Regions from separate parts of the Homo sapiens genome. Here all the other regions are linked to region 1. The links are contacts of gene promoters, found by promoter capture Hi-C in blood cells and fetal thymus (Javierre and others, 2016). All regions are on one chromosome and are shown on one strand. Each heading gives the region's core, a stretch centred on a gene start or on the middle of the fragment in contact. The rest is flanking DNA. Distances are from core to core; before and after follow the strand shown. Region 1 holds the start of XPR1 (xenotropic and polytropic retrovirus receptor 1). Region 2 overlaps XPR1 (xenotropic and polytropic retrovirus receptor 1). Region 3 has its middle 38 kb from the start of IER5.

What was found. The method cuts DNA at HindIII sites, captures the fragments that hold promoters and counts their contacts. A CHiCAGO score of 5 or more calls a contact.
Region 2: a contact is called between a fragment that was not itself captured here and the fragment with the promoter of XPR1 in region 1, in 1 of 17 cell types (erythroblasts). The highest score is 6.6, in erythroblasts.
Region 3: a contact is called between a fragment that was not itself captured here and the fragment with the promoter of XPR1 in region 1, in 2 of 17 cell types (erythroblasts and neutrophils). The highest score is 6.9, in erythroblasts.

Annotation. Positions count from the first base shown.
Region 1 is chr1:180,630,618-180,633,353 of GRCh38, reverse strand. XPR1 (xenotropic and polytropic retrovirus receptor 1) reads right to left here and starts at 1,332. Exons shown (of 15, transcript NM_004736.4): 1 at 1,084-1,332. The coding sequence starts at 1,152. RefSeq lists enhancers at 467-967, 968-1,468 and a silencer at 593-972. The HindIII fragment of the contact is 29,339 bases long and covers 1-2,736 here.
Region 2 is chr1:180,887,673-180,890,635 of GRCh38, reverse strand. It overlaps XPR1 (xenotropic and polytropic retrovirus receptor 1), which reads right to left. Exons shown (of 15, transcript NM_004736.4): 15 at 357-2,963. Among named protein-coding and RNA genes, the nearest start is that of LINC02816, 17 kb to the left of the region's middle. The HindIII fragment of the contact is 1,150 bases long and covers 928-2,077 here.
Region 3 is chr1:181,125,000-181,127,760 of GRCh38, reverse strand. No RefSeq gene overlaps it. Among named protein-coding and RNA genes, the nearest start is that of IER5, 38 kb to the right of the region's middle. The HindIII fragment of the contact is 2,394 bases long and covers 189-2,582 here.

The DNA.
Region 1 (2,736 bases), core at 83-2,582:
ACAAAACAGATGTGAATTCCTGGAGGTTACAGATAAGTCTGTCTTTCTCTATCCAGGAGCTGAATTGCCAGCTACTGAGAATAACCTATTGCAATGCTTAAAGCCTCTTAGGTATCTTGTCTTCTGAACATATAAATGGGTTCATTATCTTTATTTTTCCCTTTATTAATGTAAGGTTCCTTATTATCTATTAAATACCTTCCAGCAGTGTTAGCACAGAAATTGGGAGGGAATGGGGAGCATGATTTCTGTAATACACAGGTAAGGTATATTGTTTACAATATACTAATTTTCTCCCCAGCTAGCAAAAACTTAGCAGAAAATAAAAAAATGTTAATAATTCTCTTCTCTCCTTTCTCTTCCCTCCATTCCAAAACAAGAGGCAAAAACAAAGATGTTATTACTCTGTAGACTTCATGCAATCAGTAAAAAGAGTCTTATTATCAAAGCAGAATAGTTGATTACAACGTGTTTACAAAAACTATAACCACTACATATGTGATACACACTTAAGTCAAGTTTCAACCCCGTTACAAAGCCTTTGTCAACAGTGGGCAAGTGGGAAAAAGCCGAAGGGCTCTTTGGAATGAAGGAAATCACTGGAGGGGCTTCTCTTGGAAGACAAGGATTCCTTGGTGAGAGGTGTAGAGAGAGAAACAAGACCTAACCTTGGCGAGGGGGCGCTCGCCCAGGGTGGGGACGAGAGGTCAGGGCGAGTGGGGAGAAGGGGATTAGCGCGGAACAGCCGCGACCCGGGGCTGCCCTCGCACCGTGACTCCCCCACCTGCAGCTCACCCTCCCACCGTTCCCCGGCCCCGGCCCCGGCCCGGGCAGCGCCTTTCCTCCCGGCCCTCCGCCTGCATATCCGTTACCCCGGCGGCAGCGGGGCTGCGGGGGAGGGGAAGGACAGCGGAGCCGGGAGGCGGCCGGCCGCGGCGGGGATGCCGCAGTGGCTCCCCGCGGCAGCGGGTCAAAGTCTGCCCGGGCACAGGGAGCCAGCTGAAGCGGAAGGCGGCGGTGGACGTCAGGACTGGCGAGATGGTGGCCCCTCCGAGTCCTCCCACACCCCAGCCGTGCCGGTACCTCATACTGGATGTATTGCTTCCTCCACTCGGGAGTGATGTGCGCGGAGAGGTGCTCGGCGAACTTCATCCTGCCGTTTCCCCCTCACTCCCACTCGGGTCCAGCAGCTACAGGCGGCGGCGGCAACAGCGACTCCGACTCCTCCCCACATGGGCCCCGGCGCGGCGCGGCGCTGCGCTTCTCTCCTCCTCCGCCGCCGCCGAGGTCTCTTCAGAGCAGCCCGCCCGCCATCTTCCTCCTCCTCTCCATAGCCCCGCCCCTCCCCGCCCTCTGGACGTCATCGCCATGGTAACCGCCTACACCGCCCTGACGAAGGGGGTGCTGTAAGGGGTGGGGCTTGGGTACGCTTCTTAAGACTCCGCCCCTTGTGGGCCGTACGTGCTGGAGGCACCTCCCTGGATCTCTTCAGTCTGGCTCCTGTTGGCCTACAGCTGCTTTCTACCGCCTGTCTGGGAAGCAGCAGTGTTGTTACTGCAGTTAATATTAATACTGTAGCAACAATAATCCACACAAGACGTTTATATTTACAAAGAACTGTGCAAATATTTTTCCATTTTGATATTTATGCTTCATAAAACCTTTAAGAAATGGATCAGCACTAATCCAAACTAAGAAGCTAAAACAGTTCAGGACTAAATGTATTTAAAGGAACAGTATTTTACACACTCTAGGTGCTCAATAAGTGCTTATTGAATTTAATTAAAGACATCAATGCCAAAAAGTGCATGCTGCTTCTGAATTTCAATGTAATTGTCTAGTCCAGGGGCTATCAGAAAAGCCAATAAAAACACCAAATGAGGGTACCGACCGCACTTGTAAACTGAGCTTCCTGGGGTTGGGGGTGAGGGTTGGGAGGGAAACCAACGTTGAGAGGAAAGAGAACCCCGTAGAAGTACAGCTCTAAGCCCACCCCAGTAAAACCGGAAACAGGCCCAGCACCCAGGCTGAAGTGTCCCTGGGGAACATGGGCAGAGATCACTCACAGAGCTCTGTACTACATTGAGTGTGGGAGTGATTGTCTTGGAAGTCCCAATTCAGGACAGAAACCCAGGTCCTACCCTGGGTGGAGGAGACCTAATAATAATTTATTGAGCACTCACTGTTCCTGTACCAAGTGCTATTCTAAACCTCTTACATGTACTTTGTCCCTTGATTCTAACATTTTTTTTTTTGGTCTCGCTTTGTTGCCCAGGCTGGAGTGCAGTCACACCATCATGGTTCACTGCAGCCTTACCTCACATAGGTTTGTGAGCCATCCTCCCACCTCAGCCCCCTGAGTAGCTGGGACTACAGGCACATGCCATTATGCCAAACTAATTTTTTTGTTTATTTTTGGGAGAGATGTGGGTCTTGCTATGTTGCCCAGGCTGGTCTTGAGCTCCTGAGCTAAAACAGTCCTCCCACCTAGGCCTCCTAAAGTGCTGGAATTACAGGCATGAGCCACCTTGCTCAGCCTAACCCTCACAATTTTGATGAGATTTCAAGATTTACTAGGGAACTGCTATGCCTGGAGCAGTGCTCTGAGATATCATTCTCTGCTGTTGTCTTTTTTTCTCCATGTACTTTTTTCCCCTTTCTCTTCCCCTTAATTCATGCCAATAGGGATTCTGCAATCATTTCCCCAGGAGAGGGATGACACAAGATGGAAAATAG
Region 2 (2,963 bases), core at 253-2,752, 260 kb before region 1:
CCAGGAATTCTGCAGAAAAGTCCTATGTTCCCTCACAGGGCATGGGTATGCAGTGATAGCAGTGTCCACCTCTCCAAAATGTAATTGGACACATCATTTCACCTCATATTTGTAATATTTGAGATTCTTTGTGCGAGTAAAAGAAAGATTTGTTACAACAATCCCATTGCTTTAGAGTCACACCTCACATATTACCTGAAGATAAAAGCCATTTAAACTTCTTTTAACTTAGTAGGATAGTTTAAAAATTTCACCACTGTAGTCTGTTTGCCCTAACCCCATATGAAAATTAGTCCTAAGGGGAACTATGTTCAGGAATTCAAGAAACCAAGAGAGAAAAACAGTCACACAAACCATTCACCAGTGACAAAGGAGTCAGCAAACTGTTGGAAAACAGAGAGAAATTGTAATAATGAAAAAAGGACAGAGTTTAGTGACCAATCACTTATTTTCTTTAAAAACACATAACCACATTAACTTTTTGCTTTATACAACCATCTAGAAACTATAAAACAGTACCACATTGTGCATTTAACCTACTTATCAAGAAGGGAACTTCATAAGTCATAAGAATTCTACCCATATAGGAAGGAAAAAGGAGACAGCTAATAGCATAGTCACAGATACAACATGAGTCCAAGCAAGCATCAATTCTTCGACATCACCTTTTCCATTTACCAGAGTGGAGACTGAGAAAGAGAGTGAGGGAGAAAAAAGAGGGAAGGAAGCACCCACAGAGGACTAATCACAATCCATAGTTACTTTTGACAACTATAGCTCAGGGTTTCATAGAATAGTATCATTTGACCAACACAGTGTGGTGGAGGGAGAGGGGTGAAGGAAACACAAATAGAAGGAGAGAGTTTGAACAGAAAAATACAATTTTCCCCCTATTCCCCTCCTAAATACTCTTCATTGATACAAGCTTCTGTGCTAATCCAGAAAATGGCAAGAAATTAATCTTCACAACGTGATTAAGAGTTCTGTTCTTTTTGTAATTGAAATGTGAGTGGCTCACAATTTTACAATTCAAAATAACGTCATGAACAATGACCCTTTAGGGATTTTCCACAATCTTTCCCTCCAATTCCCACCATGCTGGTGTTGCTACAGGGCAATCAGGGAAGTGCAGGTAGGGACTTCAGAGATAATGATCAAGGGATAGTGAGATGGAAGCCTGGCTCTTTCTTAGAAGTCCACAACTTTCTAGAAGTACTGCAGTCTTTCCCTCTGATTTGTGGTGGCACAGAGGAAAGGGCATAGGAAGAACTAAGGTAATATGGTGGAAGTTTAGTCAAGTAACTGGTTTGAAGGTATACGAGACTGTGTACTTAGTAGATATACTGAATCCAAGGCAAACAATAGGTTATTTGATTGTCCTCCTTAGGTTGATGGCACCATACAAAAAACTGAGGGTGGCTTTGATTTGACGATAAAATAAACCAAAGGTTTGCTACAAGGAAACATACTTCAGTTGCAAAGTTGTATAATGATTCTCCTCACTTTAAGGGAAACTCTCATCTTGTTCTCACTTCCTCTTCCACCATAAATAAGCAAACATATTCTGGAAGGCTGTTTTCTAGGGGCAACTCAGTATCAGTTTTGATAATTCATACAAGAAAGGCATCATGAGCCATGCCAATCAACAGGCTCCTCTCTGTTCTCAGGCAAACTTCCTGTATGGACTACCTTAGGCTCTTCCAAACCTAATGAGATGTTTTTACTTTTTCATATTTGGAGAGTATGCTGGTTAGATCATTGGTTTGTAACACCAACCAGTGCAAATTTCTCATGCTATCATATAATCAACTCTGTCCCACATTACCATGTGCTCTAACATTGTATAGACTTAAAATACAATGCAGAAAGTTGAGAGTTTGTAGGATTTACTATCAAGACTGACTTCTGAAATGCAGAAACGTATGTGTTTGCATTTAGAAAACCTTTAACACTCCTTGTCTTAGCTAATGATCACAAGCAAGAAAAATTTAGATCACTCAGAAAAAGAATATGAACAAAGCTGATAAATTGGATTTATTCTTCTTTACCTAACTTTTGCAGAAGTTCTACCAAAGCTTCAATTGTCTTCACCTGGTCACTAGAGACCGTATCTGTAATGACACTGAATTCCTATTAGATTTGAGAAAAGTGTGGTGATTTTGTAGTTGAGAGAGCTACAAATTCAACTTTCTTTTTTTCTCTCAGAAGCTATCTCAATTTTAAAAACTCAAATGTTATACAGTAAGAGGTACTTGTTTTTTGAGAGGAAAATTTCATGTAAACCATTAAAAGAAAACAATAATGACCTGAAATCTGCTTACCAGATTTGTATCCCACATTTTAAAACAATGCCACAGATAGGGTTATTTTCTTAATTATTTTCCTTAGAATAAGAAATTTTTGTGGTCACTGCTTAGAAAACTGCATTTGGGAATAAATAATTATTTCCTGAATAATGCAAAGTAATGGGGAAAAGATGATAGGAAAATAAAGGCAGGTCTTTCCCAGCAATTTAATAACCACTAAGCGGACAGATGGAGGCATCACCTTCGCGTCATCAGGCTCACGTACTTTCCTAACTGCCTTGCTGCGGCTTACTGCCAACGTCCAACATCTTCTTGCTCTTCTCTGCTATCTCCAAAGTTATTTCACTTATCTTCAATGAATGTCTGTTAATCTGATACCTGCATGACTCAATACTACTTTACTTTTTTCTGTTCTTACCTTGCCGTAGTTCACCTATCCAGAAATGGATGATCTGCTTTCTCTAGTTACTGTGAATGTACTTTGGTCAAAGCATGGTGGAAAGATAATATACATCAACACGTTACTTCTGGTAAAGAGCTCAGTTAAAGTCACAGAACTCTCATGTTTAGAATATCAGGAAGTCAGGGATCCTAGGGGCTGGGGCCCATTTTCCTTCTTTAAACGGTTTTTATAAGTTACTACTGAGGTGAATGGTG
Region 3 (2,761 bases), core at 136-2,635, 490 kb before region 1:
TAGCTGAGTGTGGTGGCACATGCCTGTAATCCCAGCTACGCAGGAGGCTAAGGAAGGAGAATTGCTTGATCCTGGGAGGCAGAGGTTGCAGTGAGCCAAGATTCCACCACTGCACTCCAGCCTAGGCGACAGAACAAGACTCCATCTCAAAAAAAAAAAAAAAAAAAAAAAAGCCACAGGCAGAAGCTTCCAATTCAGTTCTCCATTGCACATGCCTGTGTTGCTTTTTTAAACATCAAGCTCCCAAGTCCCCTCCTCTGGAGGTTCTGATGTACCCCAGCCTCTCCGGAGACACTTGTGCAGGAACAAGAGCTGTGAAGCAGGGCAGACTCGAGTTCCCAGTACCAGTCACGTGACATGGGAAAAGCTACTTCCAACCCTTGGAGCCTCAGTTTCCTACTATTAAAAAAAAAAATGGAGATAATAATGTTTGCTTTACCCATGTGTCATGAGGAGTCTAGGCTGCTTGGCACAGTGCCAGGTGCTCCATAGGTGCTCTGCTGACGTCAGCTCCCCTTTCCTGCCCTTCAGAAACCTGATGCTGCAGCATCCACACTTCAGAGAGCTAAAAAGAAAGGGGCATAGCCCATGGATACTACTCCAGTTAAGCTGACCTTTGGTTCTGGCCTTAATCTAAGTCCGTGCACCCTGCCCCAGGGTCAGGCAGCTCCCACAGGGCTGCAGGACAACAACAAGCCGGCGTAGGCTGGGGGATTTCCAGGGGCGGGACCTCTGCTTTCAGAACTTCCACGGAAAGGCCTCAAAACTGACCAGCTCCACCTGCAAAAGGTCACTATCCAGGCTGGCTGAGAGTCTCTGGAAACCTATCAGTCCATCAAACTGTTCCCCAGTCTTCCTTCCATCATCTGCCAGAGCCCGTATTTCCAGAGCCACCTCTACCAGCTGCCCCTCTGGATGCAACAGGCCCGCCCCCAGGTTCAAGCCCTCCTGCCTGGCCCAGCCGCCATGAGCCCCTCAGGCCATTCTCTCCTGCCAGCCCTAGGCATTTCCCAACCCTCACCTAAAACCCATGTCCCAATTTAAAAGGCAATGAGTGGCTTCCAAATACACCCTTACCTGTTTACTCAGAGTTGACTTTGAGTTACCTGGAAGATGCGCCCACTCCCAATAGCCTGGGTGACAATCTTTCCTTTCCACCTTTTTAACAGAGGACAAGTGAGTTCCAGGAAATGCCTGGAGTGCCTAGCTACCTCTCTGGAGTACACTCAAACCCACACTCATTCTCGCTAAGCAACTTGGCGGAGGCCCTGTTTCACAGGCACCATGCTGGGCACATCTGCCTTCCTCAGCTCCCCTTCTTGAGAAACTGGGAGGTAGGTGCCGGTATCTTTATTTTATACATGAGGGGACTGAAGCATTAGGCCATCTGTATAAGCTCCCACATCTGATGAGTGGTGAACTCAGGATTTAATCCCAGGACTTCTGGGTCCCAGACAAGAGCATTTTCTACTCCACTGTGTCTGCCTCTAAAATCTACCTCAGGCCAGGCGTGGTGGCTCATGCCTGTAATCCCAGCACTTTGGGAAGCCAAGGCAGGTGGATTACCAGCGATCAGGAGTTCAAGACCAGCCTGACCAACATGGCAAAACCCTGTCTTTACTAAAAATACAAAAATTAGGCCGCACAGTGGCTCACGCCTGTAATCCCAGCACTTTGGGAGGCCAAGGCAGGCGGATCACAAGGTCATGAGATCGAGACCATCCTGGCTAACATGGTGAAACCCCATCTTTACTAAAAAAAAAAAAAAATACAAAAAATTAGCCGGGCATGGTGGCAGGTGCCTGTAGTCCCAGCTACTCAGGAGGCTGAGGCAGGAGAATGGCATGAACCTAGGAGGCGGAGCTTGCAGTGAGCAGAGATCGCGCCACTGCACTCCAGCCTGGGCGACAGAGTGAGACTCCGTCTCAAAAAAAAAAAAAATACAAAAATTAGCCAGTGTGGTGGCGCCGCCTGTAATCCCAGCTACTCAGGAGGCTGAGAAAGGAGAATGGCTTGAACCCAGGAGGCAGAGGTTGCAGTGAGCAGAGATCGCGCCACTGTACTCCAGCTTGAGCAATAGAGTGAGACTCCATCTCAAAAAAATAAAATAAAATAAATCTACCTCAAATCTATTTCTCACCCTCTTTGTTGCCCCCATCCAAGGGGGCACCTTCCAAGCCACCACAGCCGAGGCCTGGGTGACTATAATGGCCTCCCAACTGGTCTCCCTGTTCTCACTCTTGGTCACAACCATCCATTTTCCACAACAGCCAGGATGGTCCTTCTCATGAAGTGATCATGTTGCTCCCCTGCTGCACAAAAAATAAAATCAAACTCCTCCCCATGGCATATAAGGCCTGTGTGATCTGTCCCTTCCCCCTCCCCGCTGTCCCTGATACCCCTTCCATTCTTGAAGTCTTTTCCTACTCTGGGATCTTGGCACTTGATGTTTCTTCTCCTTTCCTCTTGTTGCTCCGTATATTACTTTATTTTATTTTCTTCATAGCATTTATAACTATCTGAACCTTTTAAATTTATTTACATCTTGGGTGTTTGTCTGTCTCCATTGACCAATGTAAGCTTCACAAGACAATTTTATCATGCTTTCCATGGCACCCTTGTGCCTGGAACAGCACCTGGCCAATAGTAAGTGCTCAATAATTATCCACTGGATGAATGAATGAGGAGGTCTCCCTAAGGAGACCTCAGAGATGATGGGGCTGAAAGACATCAGAGGAGAAGAAAGCTGGGGCAGTTTCAC